Linked DNA regions of Homo sapiens: region 1 is linked to region 2. The links are contacts of gene promoters, found by promoter capture Hi-C in human tissues and cell types (Jung and others, 2019). All regions are on one chromosome and are shown on one strand. The core of a region is centred on a gene start or on the middle of the fragment in contact, and the rest is flanking DNA. Distances in the headings are between cores, read along the strand shown.

The links. The method cuts DNA at HindIII sites, captures the fragments that hold promoters and counts their contacts. A contact is called where the count stands out against the background at its distance.
Region 1: a contact is called between a fragment that was not itself captured here and the fragment with the promoter of KIF3C in region 2, in 1 of the 25 tissues and cell types used here (neural progenitor cells).

The regions. Positions count from the first base shown.
Region 1 is chr2:26,016,271-26,022,737 of GRCh38, reverse strand. No RefSeq gene overlaps it. Among named protein-coding and RNA genes, the nearest start is that of RAB10, 15 kb to the left of the region's middle. The HindIII fragment of the contact is 6,969 bases long and covers 1-4,983 here.
Region 2 is chr2:25,977,137-25,983,814 of GRCh38, reverse strand. KIF3C (kinesin family member 3C) reads left to right here and starts at 1,318. Exons shown (of 8, transcript NM_002254.8): 1 at 1,318-3,442. The coding sequence starts at 1,898. RefSeq lists silencers at 1,070-1,239, 1,380-1,539 and enhancers at 1,529-2,038, 2,039-2,547, 3,057-3,565, 3,566-4,075. The HindIII fragment of the contact is 11,133 bases long and covers 1-6,678 here.

The DNA.
Region 1 (6,467 bases), core at 250-2,749, 39 kb before region 2:
ACTTTCTTTTATGAGGTTTCACACATGTTTAATAACATACATCAAACATATTACACATGAAACCTATGGAAGAAGAAGGCAATGAGAGGGAAGAAGGGGGAAAAATAGGCTGGGTACAGTGGCTCACGCCTGTAATCCCAGCACTTTGGGAGGCCGAGGCGGGCTGATTACCTGATGTCAGGAGTTCAAGACCAGCCTGGCCAACATGATGAAACCCCGTCTCTACAAAAATACAAAAATTAGCTGGGCATGATGGCAGGTGCCTGTAATCCTAGCTACTCGGGAGGCTGAGGCAGGAGAATTGCTTGAATCTGGGAGGTGAAGGTTGCATTGAGCCGAGATCGTGCCATTGCATTCCAGCCTGGGCGACAGAGCGAGACTCTGTCTCAAAAAAAAAAAAGAAGGGGGAAAAATATAAAATGAGTAGGACCTTGCACAGACCACATAGTCAGTGGTCAATGTGCTAGAAAGTGAGGAATGTGATTAACTCAGTGCTCAGCATCCCAGATCTAAATTTTTAAACAAATTGAGAAGATCAAATTGCACATGGAGGTAGATGACATTGATATTGATACTCTTTATAGTTATCATTTGCAGAAAAATATCAAAATGAGAAGAAAAACCCTAAATATTTGGTTTGGATCAATACAAAAAATATAGATTCTGGCTGTTTCTTTTATGCCTAACTGCCACATAGCATAACAATAGTCATGCAAATTTAAAAATGTGACAGATTTATTTCATCATATGAACTTGGCCATGGACTTTATGGAATTGTCAGTTTCTGAAGCTTGGTGCTCAACTCTCAGCTGTCAGCTCTTTCCCCTCCCTGTCTGGTGCTAGCTGTTTGGAAAAATCCAGTTATTTGCAAGCTACCTCACCTTTTTCCTGGAGCCAGAGAAAGAGTAGAAGTATAGGTTATCAAAAGCCCTTACACACCTGCTAATTGAGTCAGTCACTGTCAAGACAATATCTAAAAGCAGCCATCTCTGTTGGCCAAAATACCTCCAAGAAAAATAACTTAGGGGCCGGGCGCAGTGGCTCACACCTGTAATCCCAGCACTTTGGGAGGCCAAGGTGGGCGGATCACGAGGTCAGAAGATCGAGACCATCCTGGCCAACATGGTGAAACCCTGTCTCTACTAAAAATACAAAAAATTAGCCGGGCATGGTGGTGTGCGCCTGTAGTCTCAGCTACTGCAGAGGCTGAGGCAGGAGAATCGCTTGAATCTGGGAGGTGGAGGTTGCAGTGAGCTGAGATCGCGCCACTGCACTCCAGCCTGGGTGACAGAGCAAGATTCTGTCTCAAAAAATAATAATAATAACTTAAAGGAGTATAATTTTACTGTTTGTAACTCAAAGGATAAATGCTTGGGGGGATGGATACCCCATTTTCCATGATGTGCTTCTTTCACATTTCATGTCTGTATCAAAACACCTCATGTACCCAATAAATATATACACCTACTATGTACCCACAAACATTGAAAATAAAAATAAAAGAAAAAATACTCCCAAGAGGAAGCCAGACTTTTGCCCATGTAGCTTATGCATTCAGGGTTCCACTACCTTTTGCCCTCCCTCAGGGCACTGGTGTCCACAGGGCAAACCTGCCCTGTGTCCTTGAAGGCCAAATAGGGATGCTATTTCTTTCTTTCTTTTTTTTTTTTTTCTTTTTTTGAGATGGAGTCTTACCCAGTCGCCCAGGCTGGAGGGCAGTGGCACAATCTCAGCTCACTGCAACCTCCACCTCCCGGGTTCGAGTCATTCTTCTGCCTCAGCCTCCTGAGTAGCTGGGATTACAGGTGTACAGCTACACAAAGAAGCAGGCACAGTGAGGGCGACTGAGAGCAGTAGCACTTGGTTTCTGGGCCACCTCTGGACCCCAGAGCTGGATGGGATCCCAAGTCCAGTGCTGGCCACCATGGTGCTATAGGCTACAGAATCTCTTTGGGGTCCGGCAGGGGCAGTGATGGACTCACTGCTTGGCCTAACAGACTGAATCTGTGGCCTGTTGCTTTCCCCAGATCCCTGAGCCTGTTTCTCTAGCCTTCCCAGTAATTCTGAGAGCTTCCCAATAGCCTTTCAGTAAATGTATGTTCTGCTTCTAAATGCCAAATATCAGTTTCTGTTGCAACCAAAACCCGTGACTGATACACTTGTTTCTGGTAAAATTCCCAGGATGACTCCAGCTCTACCTGACATTTGTGCACGTCCACTTCCTCTTTCCCACCTTCTGCTGACCTTGCCACTTGAATGTGCTGCACCTCTGCTGAAACTTGGCTCCTGCCTGCCCTCCAAGGCTGCTGCAGCCTCGGTTCCTCTTTCCTGGGTCTCCACTGCCTCTTTCTAGCCCCCTCTACCCCAGGTTCAGGTGACCTGTGCTCCCAGCCCATCCTGAGGCCTAGACAGGTTGGGCAGTCATCCTAACCCTGTCATGATGTCAGCAGTGGGCCTCGTGCTGGCAGGGCAGAGTCCTCAGATGCTGGAAGGGAGGGTCACCAGGAGGAAAGAGGGACACAGGCAAAGAGATAGGAAAGTTGCAGAGGCTCCCTTTTTTGTTTGTTTGCTTGTTTGTTTGTTTGCTTGTTTTGAGACTCAGTCTTGCTCTGTCCAGGCTGGAGTGCAGTGGCACCATCTTGGCCCACTGCAACCTCTGCCTCCTGGGTTCAAGCTGATTCTCCTGCCTCAGCCTCCCGTGTAGCTGGGATTACAGGTGTGTGCCATCACACCCAGCTAATTTCTTTTTAGGCGGGTCTCACTCTGTCACCCAGGCTGGAATACAATAGCTCAATCATAACTAACTGTGGCCTCAAACTCCTGTGCTCAAGTGATCATCCTGCCTCAGCCTCCCAAGTAGCTGAGATTACAGGTGTGAGTCACTACACCCAGCTAATTTTTTTTTTTTTTAAGTGGAGATGGGGTCTCACTATGTTTCCCAGGCTGGTCTTGAACTCCTGGCCTCAAGCAGTCCTCCTGCCTCAGCCTCCCAAAGTTCTGGAATTAGAGGCGTGAGCCACCATGCCTGGGGTATTTTTATATTTTATCTAACAACATGAGTTTTCATTTATGGAGTTCCTGCATTGTTCTGGCCCTTTAGAGGCATGACTTCACAATAATACATTGATGTAGGAACTATGATCATCCCCATTTTCAGATGAAGAAACAAGTGTTTAAATAGGTTAAAAGAGGCCGGGCATGGTGTCTCACACCTGTAATCCCAGCACTTTGGAAGACCAAATCTGGCACATTGCTTGAGGCCCAGGGTTCAAGACCAGACTGGGCAACATGGTGAAACCCCGTCTCTACAAAAAATACAAAAATTAGCAGGGCAAGGTGGTATGCACCTGTAGTCCCAGCTGGTAGGGAGGCTGAGGTGGGAGGATTGCTTGAGCCTGGGAGGCGGAGGTTGCAGTGAACCGAGATTGCACCACCACACTCCAGCCTGGGCAGCAGAGCAAGACTCTATCTCAAAAAAAAAAAAAAGAAAAGAAAAGAAAAAGATGTGAAAAGACATGGAAGGTGGGGTGCAGTGGCTCATGCCTGTAATCCCAGCACTTTGGGAAGCTGAGGCGAGTGGATCACCTGACATCAGGAGTTCGAGACCAGCCTGGCCAATATGGTGAAACGCCATCTCTACTAAAAATACAAAAATTAGCCAGGCATGGTGGCGGGCACCTGTAATCTCAGCTACTCAGGAGGCTGAGGCAGGAGAATCATTGAACCCAAGAGGAGGAGGCTGCAGTGAGCTGAGATTGCACCACTGCACTCCAGCCTGGGCAACAGAGCAAGACTCCGTCTCAAAAAAAAAAGAAAAAAAGAGATGGAATGTGATGATGCCTGGTATTTCCTTCAAAATAAGTGGGAGCAAAGGGGATAAGTAGAGTATAGATGAAATAAAGTTACAGTGGGTTAATGATTATTCAAGCTGGATAATGAGTATATGGAGGTTCATCATACTAATGTGTGTCATTCATATATATTTGAAGCTTTCCATAATTAAAAGTTGTTTTTAGTCTGATCTAAGTCATACAACTATAAATGATGAAATTAGGTTTTGATCCCAGGCCCTCCTAACTTCAGAGCCTGCTCTCTTAACCTCTATGCTGGATACCTGGCAAGGTGCCTAAAAAGAGCTAAGCAGAAAAGATAAGTGATTTTCAGAGAATTCAGAAGGGATTTGGAAGCCTCTCAATTAATTTCTGCTCCGTTTTCTAGGTACTTCATGGGAAGGATCAACATAAGTAGAGCCAGATATTAATACCCCTCACCCAGAGCTTCTTATACAGAAGATGCCCTCCTTTTTTCTGCCTGCTTCTGAGTAGGTGCAGAAGCACCCATGAGAGAGTGGTTGGCAGCCAAAGTTTTCTAAAAACACCCAGGCAACAGCTGTCCTTGGCTGTCACCTGACTCACCAGGCCCTGAGTCAGCACCACTCCCCGACACAGCCTCCCCTGCTGAGCCAGATCTGACCTGCCCTTTCCTGGCTGAGCTGAACTAGTTGGGCCAGCCCAGCCCTGCACTATCCCAGCATTCTCCTCAGTGGGCAGCTTCTTGCTCCCTTACATGCATCTGGAGTTCCCACCCATGTGCTACCCTTGTCATCCAGGGCAGCAACCATATGCCTGAAACTCTAGCTCTGAAGAGAGCTAAAAGGCCCGCTCCATGTCCTCAGAGGCATGAACAGGGATCTGGAATCTGTGTCTGGATACAGATGACATAGGATGGCCTGGGCGCCAGCATCTTCCACCATCTGCAGAGGAAAGTCTTCCCTCTCTGGGTATCTCTGGGATTTGCTTTAGGCAAATAACCAGAATGAAATGTAAAGACACCCCCCTATTCCTGCAGAGCAGGATTCTAACACTAGGTTCAGTCCCAGAAGAGAACAAGTCTGGGGCAATATGAAGACCAAGATTTTGCTTCTGTGTTTGGTCTGTGTTTCTGTGAAAAACTCTCATGGATCATCTCATCTCAGCCTTTTCTTGGCCTAAACATGAAGCTACAGTAAGTGCTGACATATTCTCCAGGCATTCGTAGAGACTGAGCCTGGCACCATAATTGGAGGACACAGACACTGACCTCATTCCTAAGTCATTAAGGTGACACCTGCTTCCAACCTCAGACCTCCAGGCCACCCTGCTCTGAATCCTGGCCCTGCCACTGAGGCATACATGATCTTGAGCTAGTAACTAACCTTTGTGAGTCTCAGTTTTTCTCATCCGTACAGTAGGAATACAATACCTACCTTGCAGGTTGTCGTGAGGGTCAGACAAAGTAGTGCATGTGAAGCACTTTGTGGGTGAACAATAAAAATCTGTGTCCTTGCCTGGTGCAGTGGTGCATGCCTATAATCCCAGTACTTTGGGATGCTGAGGCCGGAGGATGGCTTGAGCCCAGGAGTTTGAGACCAGCTTGGGTAACATGGCGAAACCCTCTCTCTATAAATCCGGAAAAAATGGCAGGTGCAGTGGTGCATGCATGTAGTCTCAGCTACTCAGGAGGCTGAGGTGGGAGGATTGCTTGAGCCCAGGAGTCAGAGGTTGCAGTGAGCTGAGATCATACCACTGCATTCCAGCCCAGGCGACAGAGTAAGACCTTGTTTTAAAAAAAGGCTGGGTGCAGTGGCTCCTGCCTGTAATCCCAGCACTTTGGGAGGCCAAGGCAGGCAGATCACAAGGTCAAGAGATCGAGACCATCCTGGCCAGCATGGTGAAATGCCATCTCTATTAAAATTTAAAAAATTAGCTGGGCATGGTGGCATGTGCCTGTAGTCCCAGCAACTCAGGAGGCTGAGGCAGGAGAATTGCTTGAACCCGGGAGTCGGAGGTTGCAGTGAGCTGAGATTGCGCCACTGCAACCCTGCCTGGCGACAGAGCAAGACTCTATCTAAAAAAAAAAAAAAAAAAAAAATCAGTGTCTTTCACTTTGCCTTGTTCCTTGGGACCAGCTCTTATTCAAACTGTACTGATATCAAAGCTTTTAGGCCTGAGACCAAGCTCTGCCCAGCTCTCCACTCTTGATTCTGGGCATTCACACCAGAGTCCCAATACCTTCCCACTGATTCCCACGTCAAAAGACAAAATTCCAACAAATTTAGTTTAAACATTTTAACTGGCTTTCATTTGAAATTCCAGAATTGGGCAATATCTCATTCTACAAGGCAGAGTGAATGTTCCCATGAGCCGAGCAGAGGAGGTTGGTTTTAGAGACAGAAAGCAGAAACAAAACGAAAAGTGGATTCGTCGTTTCAAAGTTACTTTTCTCATAAAGGTTAAAGCAGAGGGGACTTCCTTATCACGCTGGCTAAAACTGGCCTTTTTGGAAATTTGGCTATTATCTCTCATTCTCCTGATTTCTTAGAAGGTCAGATAAACTTAATTTCAGCTTGGTGACATGAAACTTCAGCATGAGTAACTTCATTTTGGTTTGGTCTGTTGGACCTAGTGCAGGAGCTCAGTCCAAACCAA
Region 2 (6,678 bases), core at 69-2,568:
ACAGACATGGTCTATCCAGGATACTCAAGGAAGCAGGAGCTGTCAGGCAATCCAAGCCAGGGCAGGACTTCTCATGGTACAGTACTTCATGATTCATTATTTCATTTGAGCCTCCCAACCATTCCATGAAGTAGTTGTTAATTATTTCTTTCCCGCCTCGAATTTTTAAAAAAATAAATGAGGAAACTAAGGCTGGAGCAAGGGGAGTGACTGCTCAAAGCCACTCCATTGGATGGCCATCAGAACTGGAACTTCAATCCAGGTTTTGTCTTAGGTAAATTCTGTGCCTCTTTCACTATAGAAAAAAAAAAATTGCTAAGGGAAGGCTTCGTGGAGGAGGAGGTGCTTGAACTGCCCAAGTGGCAGGGCACTAAGTGCCGAAGGGTGACCAGGCCTCTGGGCAAAAGCACAAAGATGCTGCACAGCAAAGCCAGTTAAAGAAACAAAACACGGTTCCGGGAATGTGCACTGCTTGAGGACAGGAAGGACCCAGATCCTAGAATGGGGCCTGGGGCTCAGCAGGCGCTGGATAACTGAAGAAATGGCTGTCTGGAACACAGATTTTTCTATAGAGGAGTAGTGGCGGTGAGGCTGCGAAGGCGGAAGATGGAGAGGCTTTCACACAAGGAAGGCGGTGGAGGAGGAGCGAGGGGGCTCCCGGGTGCTTGTGCGGACATAAGGTGCGAGAGAATCAGCTGGAAGGTGGGCTCCAGCAGAGAGAAGAGGAAGGCCAGAAGTAGACCGGGACAGGGGGAGGAAAGGACAGAGTCAAGGAACATTTAGGAGTTCGGTTCCCGGAGGCCTGGCGACACCCTGACGGGGAGGGGTGACGCGCACCCATTTGCAGGCAGAAAGGCAGGAGCAGGGGGGTGTCCGAGGATGGTGGCTCGGAGGGACCAGGCATAGGTGGTGCAAGCTCAGCAGTCACTCAAGGGGTGGCATGCGGATGAGGGAGGCGCCTCCCGGACTGGGGGACCGGGAAAGGCATTAGCAACCTGCCAGAACCCGGTTAACAAAGGCAGGACTACAATTCCCGGCATGCTCGGGCTCGGTGGGGTGACGGCGGGCGGTGGCTGCGCTGCACCCGACTGGTGGGCGCAGGACCTGGGTCGGCACCGGAGCCTGTCATCCCGGAGCGGTCGGCGGGGGTGCAGAGACGGCGATGCGCCCCTGTCCCCCGCACCCGGGCCGCTCCGGGCTCGCGCCTCCCGCCCCGCGGCCCCGCCCCCTGCCCCACCCCAGTCGGGAGGCTTAGCTGGGGCCGCAGCGCGGCGGCAACATCACTCTCGCTGCCGCTGCTCCGCCCCATCCCCTTCTGTTTTTCTCTCTCATTCTCCAGTGGCGGCGGCGGGGAAGGCGGAGGCAGAGGCAGCAGCAGCCGCGCTGGCTGCAATGAATGATCCCCCAGCTTGGGGGGAGGACTCCAGGTGAGCCTCTGCCCTCGGGAGGCCCGGGACCCCCGGCCGCCCACGACCGGCAGCCCACGCTATGGATCCCTAGAGGAAGGAGGAGAAGACAGCTCGCCGCCCACCCCCATCCCATTTTCCTCTTCCTTTATCTCATTGTTGCCGAAGCTGTTTACGGCAGCGCTCCCTCTGCTCCTGCATGGGGCGGGCTCCGGGCACGGCTGCTCGGCAGGCGCTGCTCCCGCGGCGACTGGGGGATTCTGCCTAATTCACCTCCCAGCCGGTGCAGAGAGGACCGGAGAGCGGTGGAGGCCCGGACTGCAGCAGCGTTGGGGCCACCTCCCAGCGTCCCCACCCTAGGAGGCTGCATGCGGATTGAAGAGCTGCGCCTGGGGGCTGGGCCGGCCCCGCTGATCCCGACCTAGCGAGCAGGATAGCAGGACCGCCCAGGCTGCGGAGGGGCTCGGGGGCAGGAAGGTCAGAGCAGCAAGATGGCCAGTAAGACCAAGGCCAGCGAGGCCCTCAAGGTGGTGGCCCGGTGCCGCCCCCTCAGCAGGAAGGAGGAGGCTGCTGGTCACGAGCAGATCCTGACCATGGACGTGAAACTGGGCCAGGTGACCCTGCGGAACCCCCGCGCCGCCCCGGGGGAGCTGCCCAAGACCTTCACCTTTGACGCCGTGTATGATGCCAGCTCCAAGCAGGCCGACCTGTATGACGAAACCGTGAGGCCCCTGATAGACTCCGTGCTCCAGGGTTTCAATGGCACGGTGTTTGCCTATGGCCAGACGGGCACTGGCAAGACCTATACCATGCAGGGGACCTGGGTGGAGCCCGAGCTGCGCGGGGTCATCCCGAATGCCTTTGAGCACATCTTCACCCACATCTCCCGCTCCCAGAACCAACAGTACCTGGTCCGGGCCTCCTATTTGGAGATCTACCAGGAAGAGATTCGAGACCTGCTCTCCAAGGAGCCGGGCAAGAGGCTAGAGCTGAAAGAGAACCCCGAGACTGGCGTCTACATCAAGGACCTCTCCTCCTTCGTCACCAAGAATGTCAAGGAGATTGAGCATGTGATGAACCTGGGGAACCAGACCCGGGCTGTGGGCAGCACCCACATGAATGAGGTCAGCTCCCGCTCCCATGCCATCTTCATCATCACTGTGGAGTGCAGCGAACGTGGCTCTGATGGCCAGGACCACATCCGAGTGGGCAAGCTCAACCTCGTGGACCTGGCTGGCAGCGAGAGGCAGAACAAGGCAGGCCCCAACACAGCGGGAGGGGCAGCCACACCATCCTCGGGTGGCGGTGGTGGCGGTGGAGGCAGTGGTGGTGGTGCTGGTGGAGAGAGGCCTAAGGAAGCCTCCAAAATCAACCTCTCATTATCTGCCCTGGGCAACGTGATTGCTGCCCTGGCGGGCAACAGGAGCACCCACATTCCCTACCGGGACTCCAAGCTGACCCGGCTGCTCCAGGACTCCCTGGGGGGGAATGCCAAGACCATCATGGTAGCCACACTGGGGCCAGCTTCTCACAGCTACGATGAGAGCCTCTCCACCTTGCGCTTTGCCAACCGAGCCAAGAACATCAAGAACAAGCCCCGGGTGAACGAGGACCCCAAGGACACACTGCTGCGGGAATTCCAAGAGGAGATTGCCCGCCTGAAGGCCCAGCTGGAGAAGAGGGGGATGCTGGGGAAGCGGCCCCGGAGGAAGAGCAGCCGCAGGAAGAAGGCCGTGTCCGCCCCGCCTGGGTACCCTGAGGGCCCAGTGATTGAGGCCTGGGTGGCAGAAGAGGAGGATGACAACAACAACAACCACCGCCCGCCCCAGCCCATCCTGGAGTCAGCCTTGGAGAAGAACATGGAGAATTACCTGCAGGAACAGAAGGAGCGGCTGGAGGAGGAGAAGGCAGCCATCCAGGATGACCGCAGCCTGGTGAGCGAGGAGAAGCAGAAGCTGCTGGAGGAGAAGGAGAAGATGCTGGAGGACCTGCGGCGGGAACAGCAGGCCACAGAGCTGCTTGCGGCCAAGTACAAGGTAAGGGCCCCAGAGGAGCTGGGCACTCGAGATGTCCCCGCAGGGGATCCCGGCAAGGAGGCTCTTCTTTGAGAGTCTGTGACCTGGCCTGAAGTGGAGGTTCTCCCTCAGCACCGCACACTGCCCTCCTGCCAAATGTGCCCCCAGAGCAGCCAGGCAAATTGCTGTGATACCGGGCTGCCAGGTACATGCACAGGCACACACACACGAAGCAACGTGGACAGGCGGTCTCTCAAGCCAGTGAGCTTGGGGTGGTCTGACCTGCTGTGGGCATTTCCTGCTGGTGGCCTCAGGATCAGTCAGGTCTGTGGGATGGCCAGGCAGCCTCTTGTGAATGTGGGTTCTTGTTCCTTCACAGCCTCCTCCCCTGAGGCTTCCTCCCTCTGCAGCATCTTCAAACCTCACGTCGTTTTAATAATATCATTTGGTTAGTGCTTCAGTTCAAAAAATGCCCCATATATATGATCCATACATGATCTCATTGGATCCTTTGGCCATCCAGGGTCACAGTTCTGAAATCCCCATTTCAGAGGTGAGGAATTAAAGCTTGGAGAAGTGACGTGACCAAGGTTCCATCCTATGAAGTGGCAGAGCTGAGCTGGAACCCATGGACCTCATGCTGTTTCAGTTCTTAGCTGGGCAAAGTGGGACCATGAACAGATTCTGCTCCCTGGGAAAATGGTCCCCTGGGCCTTACAGTGCAGGAGCCATTGCTTGCTATCATTAGGAAAGAGATTTGGGGGTTATGCAGGAGGTAGGGTGGAAAAAGCACCAAACTCTATACCAGAGACCAAGAGACTGGCCTAGCCATTCTACAGCTCATTGAGTGGCCTTGTGTAAGTTGCTTCTCTCTTTTCTCAGGCCTCAGTTTACCTTTCTGTAAAATAGAGGGTTGGCCTGGGTGATCTCTGAGGCTCTACCTATCTGATAATTCTATGGCCTATATTAATCTGAGCAGCAAGCCAACCGACCCCTGCCCCGAGGCCTCATCACAGTTAATATCCAATTCCCCATAACCCTGAGAGATGTCAGGACCTCAGCATCCTTCCTGAGCTGTTTCCTCACCCCCGGGACCTTCCAGGCTCTAATGGGGCTAACTACAGAGGCCCCTCCCTGTCCAGTCATAGACCTATTAAGTTGCATTGCTGAGGATGCCACAACTCAATGTTCCAGGCATTTCCAGGCCCCTGGAGCCTTCAACACTAGGGGTGGAAGGAAGGACACAGGAAGCCATGAGCTTGCTGGGAAGAGCAAAATATTGCCATTTCTTATTCCTTCTCAGGAATGTGGGCTGGGGAGCAGGGGGGCCCAGCCTACAGCCACTGGGAGAGTGACAGATGAGCTGTATGCCATTGTCTGTTTTGGGAATGTGCTGCTGCAGCAGGGGCTCTGGCCTTACATATTTAATATTTAATTCACTTCTTTGAGCCCAGGAAGAGTTATGCTGAGCTGTTTCCTCAAGGAAAGGATCAGGGGCCTGGAACCTTTAGGGACATCCTGAGAGAAGCAAGATATTAGAGGCAGGGCCGTTAGATTGAAGCCCTCCCTAGGAGGGAGGGAATCCAGTGTTTGCTTACCTGGTCAATCTGCCATTGATTTTGCTAAGAAGACCCCCCACCTCCCTGAAAGCTGGAAGGCAACAAAGGCTAAGAAGGGAGGAAAATGCAATAACACACTTCGGCTGCCTGAGGGATGGGGTGAAGGTTTCCGTTGTTGGGAACTGACCAGTTTCCCTCAGTGAGATCCTTGGATCTAAGGCAGTATGGGGCACAGATGATAGAACGGCCAAGAGATCAGGGCGGCCAGCACCAGAATTCTTGCACCAGAGGCATAGCCCACAAAATATCACAGTCTTAGAGTTGGCAGGAGCTTTGGAAAACTGAGACCTGGACTTGCCCAGGGCCACACAGGTGAGTTGAGGAGAGCCTAGCCCCTTTATATATGGAAGAGCCCAGCCTCTTTCCACTGCTTGAGTCCTAATGTTACCTGTGCTACTTGATAATCAGAGTAATTCATTTTTATATAAGGCGTTGACATCTTAATCTCATTCGATCCTCCCAACAACCCCAAGGGGTGGGTACTATTATTTCCATTCAACAGTTATGAAAACTAAGGCTGGGGAGGTGGAGTGAGTGTCTTATCAGCTCGTGACCCTGGGTGATAGGCAGCAGAGCCAGGACTGGAACCCAGGTCTTCTGATGCCCCCAGCCCTGTGCTCTTTCCAAGGCATCTCAGATTCCTCCATGTTTGCTCACTGTGTGACTCAGGGCAACCGCCTTTCCCTCTCCAGCCCTCAGGCTTCCATTCACCTAATGAGGAGGAGAAGCCTGACCTTGCTCCCTGGGGAGTGGGTGAAACAGTCACTATGTACCAGGTGTTCAGATGGAAGCAAAGGGGGAGGAGTGCCTGGGAAATTCCACAACAGGAATGATTCCATACCCTGTGACTTCTCATCACACTCAGCCTAGGACAATCAGCAGCCAGCAACCCAAAATGGAACCTAGACAGAGGACCCAAGTTCCCCATAGCCCCAAGGCACCGCCTGGTTCAGTGTCGGATGTTTCTAGGCTGGTGGAAACAATTTGAGGGCTCTTGAGGAATCTACAGGGTAAAGAGGGGAGGAGCATGTTAGAGATACCAACCCCAGTCCTGCCTATTTCCCAGGGTTGAGGATTAAATGAGATCATTAGCACGAGGGCATTTAAAATAAGTTGAAAGCACCAAATACATGGAAGGCATTAGCAGCTATGGGGTGGCTTCTGTCCACCAAGCTGGGGTCCAGTGATCTCCAGGACAGACATCTTTGTTGTTAGCTTGACTTCTTCTTTACCCTGCCATCCCAGCTGCCTTGCCATAACCCTGCAGCTTGCTGGGAGTAGAGCCAGGCAGGAGAGGTCTAGGAGATTTCAGAAGGCAGGCTCCCCATCTGCAGCTCACTCCTGTCCCCCCTTTCTGAGTTATGGCATCAACTCCGCTTCTTCCCTGACCAGCTCCCATTCCCTTCTTCCAGTTCATGCCACCCTCTGGGGGCAGCTAAGTGGTAGTTGATGCGACCCAGTGCCCTCATTCACTCTCTCTGACTCATCTCATAGTCTGTCTCGCCAGCTCTCCCTGCCTGCCACCTCCCAGGCTCCCTGTTCTCTTTGTTCTCCCCTCACTGTGCACAAACACCATGCCTGTCTCCTTGGAATCTCATTTCATCCCTCCTTTCATGTTTACTGTGGGCCTCAGGGGAT